Regions from separate parts of the Homo sapiens genome. Here region 1 is linked to region 2. The links are contacts of gene promoters, found by promoter capture Hi-C in human tissues and cell types (Jung and others, 2019). All regions are on one chromosome and are shown on one strand. Each heading gives the region's core, a stretch centred on a gene start or on the middle of the fragment in contact. The rest is flanking DNA. Distances are from core to core; before and after follow the strand shown.

Evidence for each region. Contacts are between HindIII fragments. The study calls those that stand out against the background at their distance.
Region 1: the fragment with the promoter of VSTM1 here is called in contact with the fragment with the promoter of NLRP12 in region 2 in 7 of the 25 tissues and cell types used here (H1 embryonic stem cells, dorsolateral prefrontal cortex, liver and 4 more).

The regions. Positions count from the first base shown.
Region 1 is chr19:54,062,647-54,068,246 of GRCh38, forward strand. It overlaps VSTM1 (V-set and transmembrane domain containing 1), which reads right to left and starts at 1,251. Exons shown (of 9, transcript NM_198481.4): 1 at 1,098-1,251. The coding sequence starts at 1,131. The HindIII fragment of the contact is 40,052 bases long and covers 1-5,600 here.
Region 2 is chr19:53,821,948-53,827,644 of GRCh38, forward strand. NLRP12 (NLR family pyrin domain containing 12) reads right to left here and starts at 2,367. Exons shown (of 10, transcript NM_144687.4): 1 at 1,939-2,367. The coding sequence starts at 2,227. The HindIII fragment of the contact is 28,124 bases long and covers 1-5,697 here.

The DNA of each region.
Region 1 (5,600 bases), core at 1-2,500, 240 kb after region 2:
CCAGGAGGTGGAGGTTGCAGTGAGCTGAGATCACACCACTGCACTCCAGCCTGGGAGACAAAGCAAGACTCTGTCAAAAAAAAAAAAAAATGCTCATCTAAGGTGCAAATGTGTGTAGGAGACGAGCATTACCCCACAAGGAAGGGCTGCACCCAGAAAAGGAGGAAGGAACTGAAGCAGACGAAGCACGTCGATGTCCACCGCACCCCCCGTGCACCAGGGAGGAACTGGGGCCTTAGGGAGGTGGAGCTCTGCTGGGTCAAGCCTAGAGTTTCTATGTAGTAAAGCCGAGATTATAACCCAGGTCATCCGTTTCACAGTGTGAGCTCTGTCTGAATACATCAGGTTCAATTGGAGGATGGTTAAAATCAGCCTAAGAATCGAGCTGGTCAGAAAATTGTCTTCTTGGGGCCAGGTGTGGTGGCTCACGCCTGTAATCCCAGCACTTTGGGAGGCTGAGGCGGGCGGATCACCTGAGGTCAGGGGCTCGAGACCAGCCTGACCAACATGGTGAAACCCCGTCTCTACTTAAAATACAAAAGTCAGCCGGGTGTGGTGGCCTGCACCTGTAGTCCCACCTACTCGGGAGGCTGAGGCAGGAGAATCGCTTGAACCTGGGAGACGGAGGTTGCAGTGAGCCCAGATCACGCCATTGCACTCCAGCCTGGGCTACAGAGTGAGACTCTGTCTCATAAATAAATGCATACATACATAAATAAATAAATAAGAGAGAGAGAGAAGAAAATTGTCTTTTTGCCCACAGCCTTGCACCCTGTAGATCCCTAAGCCCAGCCCTCCTCTATTCCGACGGAGGATGATGGCAGTACTGCGGTATTTAGCGGCTGCAGACTCGGAGACCCCACAGCAGCTCTGCCTTTCCCAGCGGAGTCTGTCCCCGTGTCTCTGCAGCGCGGCCTCCTCCTCGCTTGCATGTGGGCGGCAGAACTCACAGAACCCACAGCCCAGACCCACCCACCGCAGGTGTGCAACACCTGGAAGTCATTACTTCCACACACCGCATTTCCACCTGGACTGCCACTCCCACATGAGTTTTTCTCACCAGCCCAAGCCCATTCGTCCCAGTCCTGGAGACTCACCGAGGCAAAGCAGGGAGAGGAATTCTGCGGTCATAGCGTCCCTTCTGCCAGAACCAAGGCCCCGCCTTGGGTTTTACCCTTCAAAGGCGGAGCGGGACTGGGCCGGCCGCAGCTCTCCGGCTGCCCGGTTCGTCCCCAGGATGTGCAGATAGAGGAGGTTTTGCTCTGACACTCTGGTTCTCTGCCCCACTCTTGCAGTTTCCTTCTCACAACCGACTCAGGAAACAAGAAGCCGTCGATGATAACTTCTTCCCCATGAATCCGGTGTGTGTGGCCCCACCCGCCCGAGCTCTGTCCTACCTTATCTGAAGTTCTGCCAAGAGTTTTCTGTAAATGTAATTTTTTATTTTAAAACACTAATACCGGCCGGACGCGGTGGCTCACGCCTGTAATCCCAGCACCTTGAGAGGCTGAGGCGGGCGGATCACCTGAGGTCGGGAGTTCAAGACCAGCCTGACCAAAATGGAGAAACCCCCGTCTCTACTAAAAATACAAAATTAGCCAGGCATGGTGGCGCATGCCTGTAATCCCAGCTACTCCGGAGGCTGAGACAGGAGAATGGCTTGAACCCAGGAGGCGGAGGTTGCTGTGAGCCAAGATTGTGCCACTGCACTCCAGCCTGGACAACAACGGTGAAACTGTCTCAAACAAGCAAACAAACAAACATTAATACCTATAGCTTTATAGCTTCCGTGTACCCACTAGCCAGCTCCCCACAATGTTAACCTTTTTTTGGGGGGCGGGGGGGACAGAGTCTTGCTCTGTCACCCAGGCTGGAGTGCAGTGGCGCGATCTCGGCTCACTGCAACCTCTGCCTCATGGGTTTAAGGATTCTCCTGCCTCAGACTCCCAAGTAGCTGGGATTACAAGCATGCACCACCACACCCAGCTAATTTTTTGTAGAGATGGGATTTCACCATGTGGGCCAGGCTGGTCTTGAACTCCTGGTCTCTAGTGACCCGCCCACCTCAGCCTCCCAAAGTGCTGGGATTACAGGCATAAGCCACTGTGCCCGGCCAATGGTAATCTCTTATAATTACAGTACTTTTTTTTTTTTTTTTTTTTTTTGAGACAGAATCTCTGTCAGCCAGGCTGGAGTGCAGTGGCACAATCTTGGCTCACTGCAACCTCTGCCTCCCGGGTTCAAGCGATTCTCCTGCCTCAGCCTCCCGAGTTGCCGGGATGACAGGTGTCCGCCACCACTCTTGGCTAATTTTTTTTGTTCTTTTTAGTAGAAACGAGGTTTTGCCATGTTGCCCAGGCTGGTCTCGAACTTCTGACCTCAGGCGATCCGCCTGCCTCGGCCTCCCAAACTGCTGGGATTACAGGCGTGAGCCACCACGCCCGGCGTATGGCACATTTTCAAAACCAGAGACTTTGCACTGGCATCACACGTTTAACCAGGTTCCAGAGGTCACTCAGATCTCACCAGTTTGTGCATAATTCGTTTCTCTTTTTCTCTTCCTCTTCCTTCTATTTCTATTTCCTTTTCTCCTTTTCCTTCTTTTCTCCTGCTCTTCCTCCTCTTCCACCTTCTTTTCCTCCTCCCTTTTCTTTGCCTATGGGTATAGTTCTGTAACATTTTATTGCCTGTATGTATGGCTTTATAGAACCACCGCCACAATCAAGACACAGAACTGTCCCACCACCACGTAGGAACTCCCTCATGCTGCCCCTTTATAATCGCTCTCCCACCCTAGCACCTGCTAATCTGTTCTACGTCTCTATCACTTTGTCACTTTGAGACTCTTGTATAAATGGAATCGTCCATCGCCTCACCTTCTGAGGGTGACCTTTTTCACTCAGCACAATGCCTGTGAGATTCATTCAAATGGTTGTGTGTTATGATGATGGATACATTAGCCGGGCGTGGTGGCACACGCCCATAGTCCCAGCTACTCAGGAGGCTGAGGCAGGAGAATCGCTTGAACCCGGGAGGCGGAGGTTGCAGTGAGCTGAGATCACGCCACTGCACTCCAGCCTGGGTCACAGAGCAAGACTCCATCAAAAAAAAAGAATTATCTAATGGATACAATGTGTGTCACTGGGTTAGTGGATACCTGAAAGCCCTAACTTCATCATTTTGGAATCTATCCATGCAATAAAGTTACACTTGTACCCCATAAACGTATACAAATAAAAAATAATCGTCTGGGCATGATGACTTACCGCTGTAATCCCAGCACTTTGGGAGGCTGAGGCGGGATTACAGGTGTGAGCCACCATGCCCGGCCTATACTTTCTATCTTAATAACTACAAAAATAATAACTTGCTGGATGGGTCCCTGTGCCCACCCCGTCCTGTCCTAAGTGAGGAGGATGGGAAGAAAGCCATCGTCCTGTCCTGGTGCGGCTCTCAAACAGCTGGAAATGCTGGCTGCACAGGAAACTCTAAGGATCGGCAGCTCTAGCGCATGCTACCCTTGGCAGCTGTGTGGTCTGTGGATAGAGAAGGACCAACCTGTGGTTAGTGGAGGAAGAGGAGGAATATTGCTTTGATAAGCACATCCTCAGAGTTATAACAGAGGAGACAATAGTTATAAAATAAGAATGATATTTACGAAAAATAATAAGACTATTAACAAGAAACAGCAACAAATCTTGAAAACAAAATGTAACAACAAAACATAAATGTTGACTTTTTTTTTTTTTTTTTTTTTGAGACGGAGTCTCGCTCTGTCGCCCAGGCTGCAGTGCAGTGGTGAGATCTCGGCTCACTGCAACCTCTGCCTCCCGGGTTCCAGCAATTCTCCTGCCTCAGCCTCCTGAGTAGCTGGGATTACAGGCATGCACCACCACGCCCAGCTAATTTTTGTATTTTTAGTAGAGATGGGGTTTCACCATATTGGCCAGGATGGTCTCGATCTCTTGACCTTGTGATCCGCCCACCTCGGCCTCCCAGAGTGCTGGGATTATAGGCATGAGCCACAGCACCTGGCAACTGTTGACATTTTACATCTGCACCAGTAAGACTGGCTACCAATTACAAGCAAATGGATGCCATGGATAGAATGGAATTCCTGCCAAACTGGGTAAAATGTTGGAAACATATAAAATAAAATGTAAAAGAAATGTATTATAAATACAGGCTGGGCGTGGTGGCTCATGCCTGTAATCCCAGCACTTTGGGAAGCCAAGGTGGGCAGATCACTTGAGGTCAGGAGTTCGAGACCAGCCTCGCCAACATGGTGAAACCCCGTCTCTACTAACACACAAAAATTAGCCAGGCATGGTGGTGGGCGCCTGTAATCCCAGCTACTTGAGAGGCTGAGGCAGGAGAGTCACTTGAACCTGAGAGGGAGGTTGCAGTGAGCTGAAATTACGCCACTGCACTCCAGCCTGGGTGACAGAGTGAGACTCCCTCTCCAAAAAAAAAGAAAGAAAGAATGTATTATAAATACATATGACCAAGCACAGTGGCTAACGCCTGTAGTCCTGGCACTTTGGGAGGCCAAGATGAGAGGATCACTTGAGTCCAAGAGTTCGAGACCAAGTTGGGCCATATGGTGGAACCCGGCTTCTACAAAAAATACAAAATTTAGTCCGGCATGATGGCACACACCTGTGGTCCCAGCTACTCAGAAGGCTGAGATGGGAGGATTACTTTAGCCTGGGAGGTCGAGGCTGCAGTGAGCCGTGATCTAGCCACTACACTCCAGCCTGGGCGACAGAGTGAGACCCTGTCTCAAAATAAATAAATATAATAAATAAATAAATATGTATATCCCAATATTGGACTAAATGCTGGTCCAGAAGCACAAAATAGAAAGAACGGAGAGGAAGTATTAATAAATATTACACAGGAAGCAATGTTTTTCCCTTCGTGTGGAGGAAGAGTTCCCCGCAGGTGAGAGTCACCTACTACTCAATCTGACTCTGAAGTTTTAAGTATTGATTCAAGTTATCAAAAATGTATTAAGGGCTGGGCACGGTGACTCAAGCCTGCAATCCCAGCACTTTGGGAGGCCGAGGTGGGCTGATCACTTGAGCTCAGGTGTTCAAGACCAGCCTGGCCAACATGGGTGAAACCCCATCTCTACTAAAAGTACAAAAATTAGCTGGGCATGGTGGCAGGCGCCTGTAATCCCAGCGACTTGGGAGGCTAAGGCAGGAGAATCGCTTAAACCCAGGAGGTGGAGGTTGCAGTGAGCCGAGATCTTGCCATTGCACTGCAGCCTGGGTGACAGAGCGAGACTCCGTCTCAAAGAAAAAAAAAAAAAGTATTACGTGGCTCATTGTGCCCAATTCTGTCCTCTGTCCCCAGTGAAAAGTACAGGAAGAAGAAAGCCACCATCCTGCCCTACAGCAGATCCCAACAGAGCTGAGAGTGCAGGTTCCACAGAAAGCGGTTAAGGCTCAGCTGGTCCAACCCATCATTCCCTGGGCAGCTGTGGGATCTATGGCTAGAGAAGAACAGAGCTGAGCTTAGAGGGGAAGGAAGAGGAGGAAGATTGTTTTCTCCCGGCATCCAAACACAGCTTTTCAACCAGGGGGAGCACCACC
Region 2 (5,697 bases), core at 1,117-3,616:
TGCAGTAACATGGACGCAGCTGGAGGCCATTATCCAAAGCAAACTAATGCAGGAATAGAAAACCAAAGACTGCATGTTCTCACTTATAAGTGGAAGCTAAACATTGGGTTCTCATGGACAGAAAGATGGGAAGAAGAGACACTGGGGACTCGTGGCGGGGAGAAATCTCACCATTGGGTACTATTACTATGTTCAAGTACCTGCATGATAGGATCAATCTTACTCTGAATCTCAGCATCACTCAATATACCCATGTAACAAACCTGCACATGTACCCCTTGAATCTAAAAGTTGAAATTTTTATATAGATATAGATGTGTGTGTACGTAAATTAGAATTCCAGATCTCCCAGGCTCAGGGATTAGTATGAAAGAAAAGGGAATTGGTGGCCAGGCAGTGGTCATTCATGCCTGTAATCCCAGCACTTTGGGAGGCTAAGGTGGAAGCTCGCTTGAGCCCAGGAGTTCAAGACCAGCCCGGGCAACATAAGGACACCTCATCTTGGCCGGGCACAGTGGCTTATGCCCGTAATCCCAGCACTTTGGGAGGCTGAGGTGGGTGGATCACGAGGTCAGAAGTTCAAGACCAGCCTGGCCAAGATAGTGAAACCCCGTCTCTACAAAAAATACAAATACAAAAAATTAGCCAGGCATGGTGGCAGGTACCTGTAATCTCAGCTACTCGGGATGCTGAGGCAGAAAATTGCTTGAACCTGGGAGACGGAGGTTGCAGTGAGCGGAGATTGCGCCACTGCACTCCAGCCTGGGCAACAGAGCGAGACTCAGTCTTAAAAAAAAAAAAAAAAAAGGATACCTCATCTCTTTCTTAATTTATTTTTGAGATGGGGTTTCACTCTGTTACCCAGCCTGGAGTACAGTGGTGCAATCTCAACTCACTGCAATCTCCACCTCTCAGGTTCAAGCGATTCTCCTGCCTCAGCCTCCCATGTAGCTGGGACTATAAGCGTGTGCCACCACGCCTGGCTAATTTTTGTATTTTTAGTAGAGACAGGGTTTTGCTATGTTGGCCAGACTGATCTCGAATTCCTGACCTCAGGTGACCCACCCGCCTTGGCCTCCCAAAGTGCTGGGATTATAGGTGTGAGCCACTGCACCTGGCTACCTCATCTCTTAAAATATATATACACACACACATATACACACACATATATATACACATATATACACATATATATACGTGTGTGTATATATATATAAATTCCAGATCTCCCAGGCTCAGGGATTTTATATATATGTATTTTAAATATTTATTTTAATAATATATGTATTAAATATTTAATATATAATATTTATTATTTATATATATTTATATAATATACCATATTTATATAATATAGTATATTTATATAATAAATATATACTATATTTATATATAATATATACCATATTTAATATATATTTAATAATATAATTATATACATATTTTAAATATATATTTAAAATATATGTTTTAAATATATATATTTAAAATATATGTTTTAAATATATATTTTAAATATATATTTAAAATATATATTTTAAAATATATTTATTTAAAATATATATTTAAAACATATATTTTAAATATATATATTTTAAAAAAATATATTTTAAATATTTGAGGCAAGGTCTCGTTCTGTCACCTAGGCTGGGGTGCAGTGGCAGGATCATAGCTCACCGCAGCCTCGACCTTCTGGTCTCAAGTGATCCTCCCACCTCAGCCTCCTGAGAAGCTGGGATCACAGACGTATACCACCACACCTGGCTAATTTTTTTTATTTTTGGTAGAGACAGAGCCTCACTATGTTGTCCAGACTGGTCTTGAACTCCTCACCTCAAGTGATCTGCCCTCTTCAGCCTCCCAAAGTGCTGAGATTACAGGTATGAGTCACTGGACCCGGCTGGCATTCTAGCCTTGCCTGTCCCGCCACCTCCTTACCCCTCACCAGGTCCTCTCTCTGTCCTCTCTCCCACAGGTCCTTCCTGTTTATCCGCTCAAAGGTGCTGAGAGCCAACCTCCAGGCCTCCTCTGGCCCGAAGTGGGTGATGAGCAGCTGGGCCATTTCCAGGGGACCGGCCTTCTCCATGCTTCCCCAGGGGATCTTGCCTTCTCCCAGCTCTGTCGCGGTCCCCAGGTATAACTTGAACTTCTTCAGTTCCACAGCCTCGAGTTCTTCCAAGTAGGTGGACAGGCGACAGAGGCCGTCCCTGCCTGCGGTTCGTAGCATGGGGGTGCCGTGAGCCCCAAAGGAGAGGACCTGGAGGCTGAGATGCTCCTATGCACGGGACACAGGGCGACCCCAGCACACCTTCCATTGCATCATTCACAGGCAGCGGGCGGAGAGGCTGAGCCAGTGGTTGGAGGAGAGAGCAAGGGAGGAAAGACCTTTTGCTGAAATAATGCTTTCTCACTCTTCAGTTCCCTCCTGCCCTGCCCCACTCACCAATGGCTGTTCTGGGTGGAGAAGAGGAAGTTCGGGGGGAGATTAAGAAATCCGAGGAGCCACTTGGCTGATGAAAAAGATTTTCACTTCTGCTGTCTCTTCCTGGATCTCTTGACAAAACAGTCACTCTCTTTCCGCTTTCCTCTTGTTTTCCTCATTTCACTAGTGTGTGTGGTAGAGTGTATTATCAAAACTGCGACTGCGCCTCTTCCAGGGAGAATTTTTTTTTTTTTGAGACAGAGTCTTACTCTGTGGCCCTGGCTCTGCGATCTTGGCTCACCGCAACCTCTGCCTCCCAGGTTCAAGCGATTCTCCCACCTCAGCTTCCCTTGAGTAGCTGGGATTACAGGCGCCGGACACCACACCCAGCTAATTTTTGTGGTTTTAGAAGAGACAGGGTTTCACCATGTTGGTCAGGCTGGTCTCGAACTCCTGACCTCAGGTGATCCACCCGCCTCAGCCTTCCAAAGTGCTAGGATTACAGGTGTGAGCCACCGTCCCTGGCTTTTTTTTTTTTTTTTTTCTTTGAGTCAGAGTCTCACTCTGCCACCCAGGCTAGAGTTCACTGGCGTGATCTCAGCTCACTGCAACCTCCGCCTCCCAGGTTCCAGCGATTCTCCCACCTCAGCCTCTCAAGTAGCTGGGACCACAGACATGCGCCACCATGCCCAGCTAAGTTTTTGTAGTTTTGGTAGAGACAAGGTCTTCTTATGTTGCCCAGGCTGGCCTTGAACTCCTGAGCTCAAACGATCCGCCCACCTCAGCCTTCCAAAGTGCTGGGATTACAGGCATGAGCCACTGAGCCCAGCCTCAGGGAGAATTATTAAGGACCTCACGTAGGTCTGCTATTTTTTTTCTGTTCTCTCAGTCACAAGAGTGGCATGAGAGGGACTTTGCGGTAGGCAGGATGATGGTCCCCAAAGATATTCATGTCCTAATGGCCAGAACCTGTGACATTTCACCCTACATAGCAAAAGAGACTTAGCATATGTGACCAAATGAAGGCACTTCAGATGGGGACATTATCCTGGTTATCTGGGCAGGACCCATGGAATCACAAGAGTCTTTTTTTTGAGACAGAGTCTTGCTCTGTTGCCCAGGCTGGAGTGCAGTGGCACGAACTCGGATCACTGCAAGCTCCGCCTCCCAGGTTCACACCATTCTCCTGCCTCAGCCTTCCGTATAGCTGGGACTACAGGTGCCCGCCAACACGCCTGGCTAATTCTCTTTTTTTTGTATTTTTAGTAGAGATGGGGTTTCACCATGTTAGCCAGGATGGTCTTGATCTCCTGACTTCGTGATCCACCTGCCTCAGCCTCCCAAAGTGCTGGGATTACAGGCGTGAGCCACCGCACCCAGCCACAAGAGTCTTTATAAGAAGAAGACAGGAGGGTTAGTGTAAGAGGAAGATGTGACTGGGTGCAATGGCTCATGCCTGTAATCCTAGCACTTGGGGAGGCCAAGGCAGGTAGATCACCTGAGGCCAGGAGTTTCACACCAGACTGGTCAACACAGTGAGGCCCCATCTCTACAAAATATGTGTTAGCAGAATTTATGAATTCTGATGGAAGAGCAAGTTTATAATTCCCTCTGTCTCCTGCATCATGCCAACTTTGTTTCATGCTCCTAATCAATTAAGACCCCTCAGACACACACACACACACACACACACACACACACACACACACACACACACAAAAGCCTTCATAGCCAGGCGCAGTGGCTCACACCTGTAATCCCAGCACTTTGGGAGACTGAGGCGGGCAGATCACCTGAGGTCAGGAGTTTGAGACCAGCCTGGCCAACATGGTGAAACCCCGTCTCTACTAAAAATACAAAAATTAGCCGGGCTTGGTGGCACGCACCTGTAATCCCAGCTACTTGGGAGGCTGAGGCAGGAGAATCACTTGAACCCGGGAAGCAGAGGTTGCAGTGAGCCGAGACTGCGCCACTGCACTCCAGCCTGGGCAACAGAGCGAGACTCTGTCTCAAAAAAAGAAAAAAAAAATTAGCTGGGGTTTGGTGGCGGGTGCCTGTAGTCCCAGCTACTCAGGAGGCTGGGGCAGGAAAATCACTTGAACTCAGGAGGCGGAGGTTGCAATGAGCCAAGATCCCGCCATTGCACTCCAGCCTGGGTGACAGAGTAAGACTCCGTCTCAAAACAAAACAAAAAAAACCTTCACAGCTTTTTATGAGACATTCTCCCACATCCAGTCCCTTCCAGGACTAATATTCTGTTGCATGGCATGCAGCAGTTTTGAGCAGGGGAGGGATGGAGTCAGGTCTGGGTTAAGGAAGATTCCTCAAGGCCCTTGTGGAAGGCAGACCAAACAGAGGAGGCCTGGATTGGGAGAGCGAGAAGCTGAAGCCTTCATGTTTCAGGAGATGGAGATAATGCCTGAGTAAGGGCAGGCGGTGGGTGCATCCTGGGAGTGTGGGGATGGCAGTGATCATTAGAGGGGAGGAGAAAGGTTTGGCAAACCTGAACTACCTACAGACCCCATCTGAGCTTCCTCAAGTGGCTCACGACGCAGGCTCCTTCCACGCCACTGCTGCAGGTGGTGGTAAAACTAATTTCTAGGAATTCGGAAGCGAGGCTTGGGGGAAGCTGAATCCACATCTGTCTACTTCATGCTTCCACTTTCAAGATAGAACTTTCTCATGGGGAAAGAAGAGAATTGGCAACTTCTATAGCTGCTTCTGGGCTTAGTGCCATTTCTGGAAACACAAGAATGAATCTAAAGACAAGGAATGCCATTTTCCTTTTTTTTTCTTTTTTTTTTTTTGTTTTTAGTAGATGGGGTTTCACCATGTTGCCCAGGATGGCCTTCAACTCCTGAGCTCAAGCGATCCTCCCACCTCGGCCTCCCAAAGTGCTGGGATTACAGGCATGAGACACCGCACCCAGCCCAATTTTCCTTTTTTAAAAAATTTTTTTGCTGGGTGCAGTGGCTCACGCCTGTAATCCCAGCATTTTGGGAGGCTGAGGCGGGTGGATCATTTGAGGTCAGGAGTTCAAGACCAGCCTGGCCAACATGGTGAAACCCCATCTCTACTAAAAATACAAAAATAACCTGGGTATGGTGGTGGGCACCTGTAATCCCAGCTACTTGGGAGGCTGAGGCAGAAGAATCACTTGAACCCAGGAGTGGAGGTTGCAGTGAGCCGAGATCACATCACTGCATTCCAGGCTGGGTAACAGAGACACCATCTCAAATAAATAAATAAATAAATAAATAAATAATAGAAGTTGT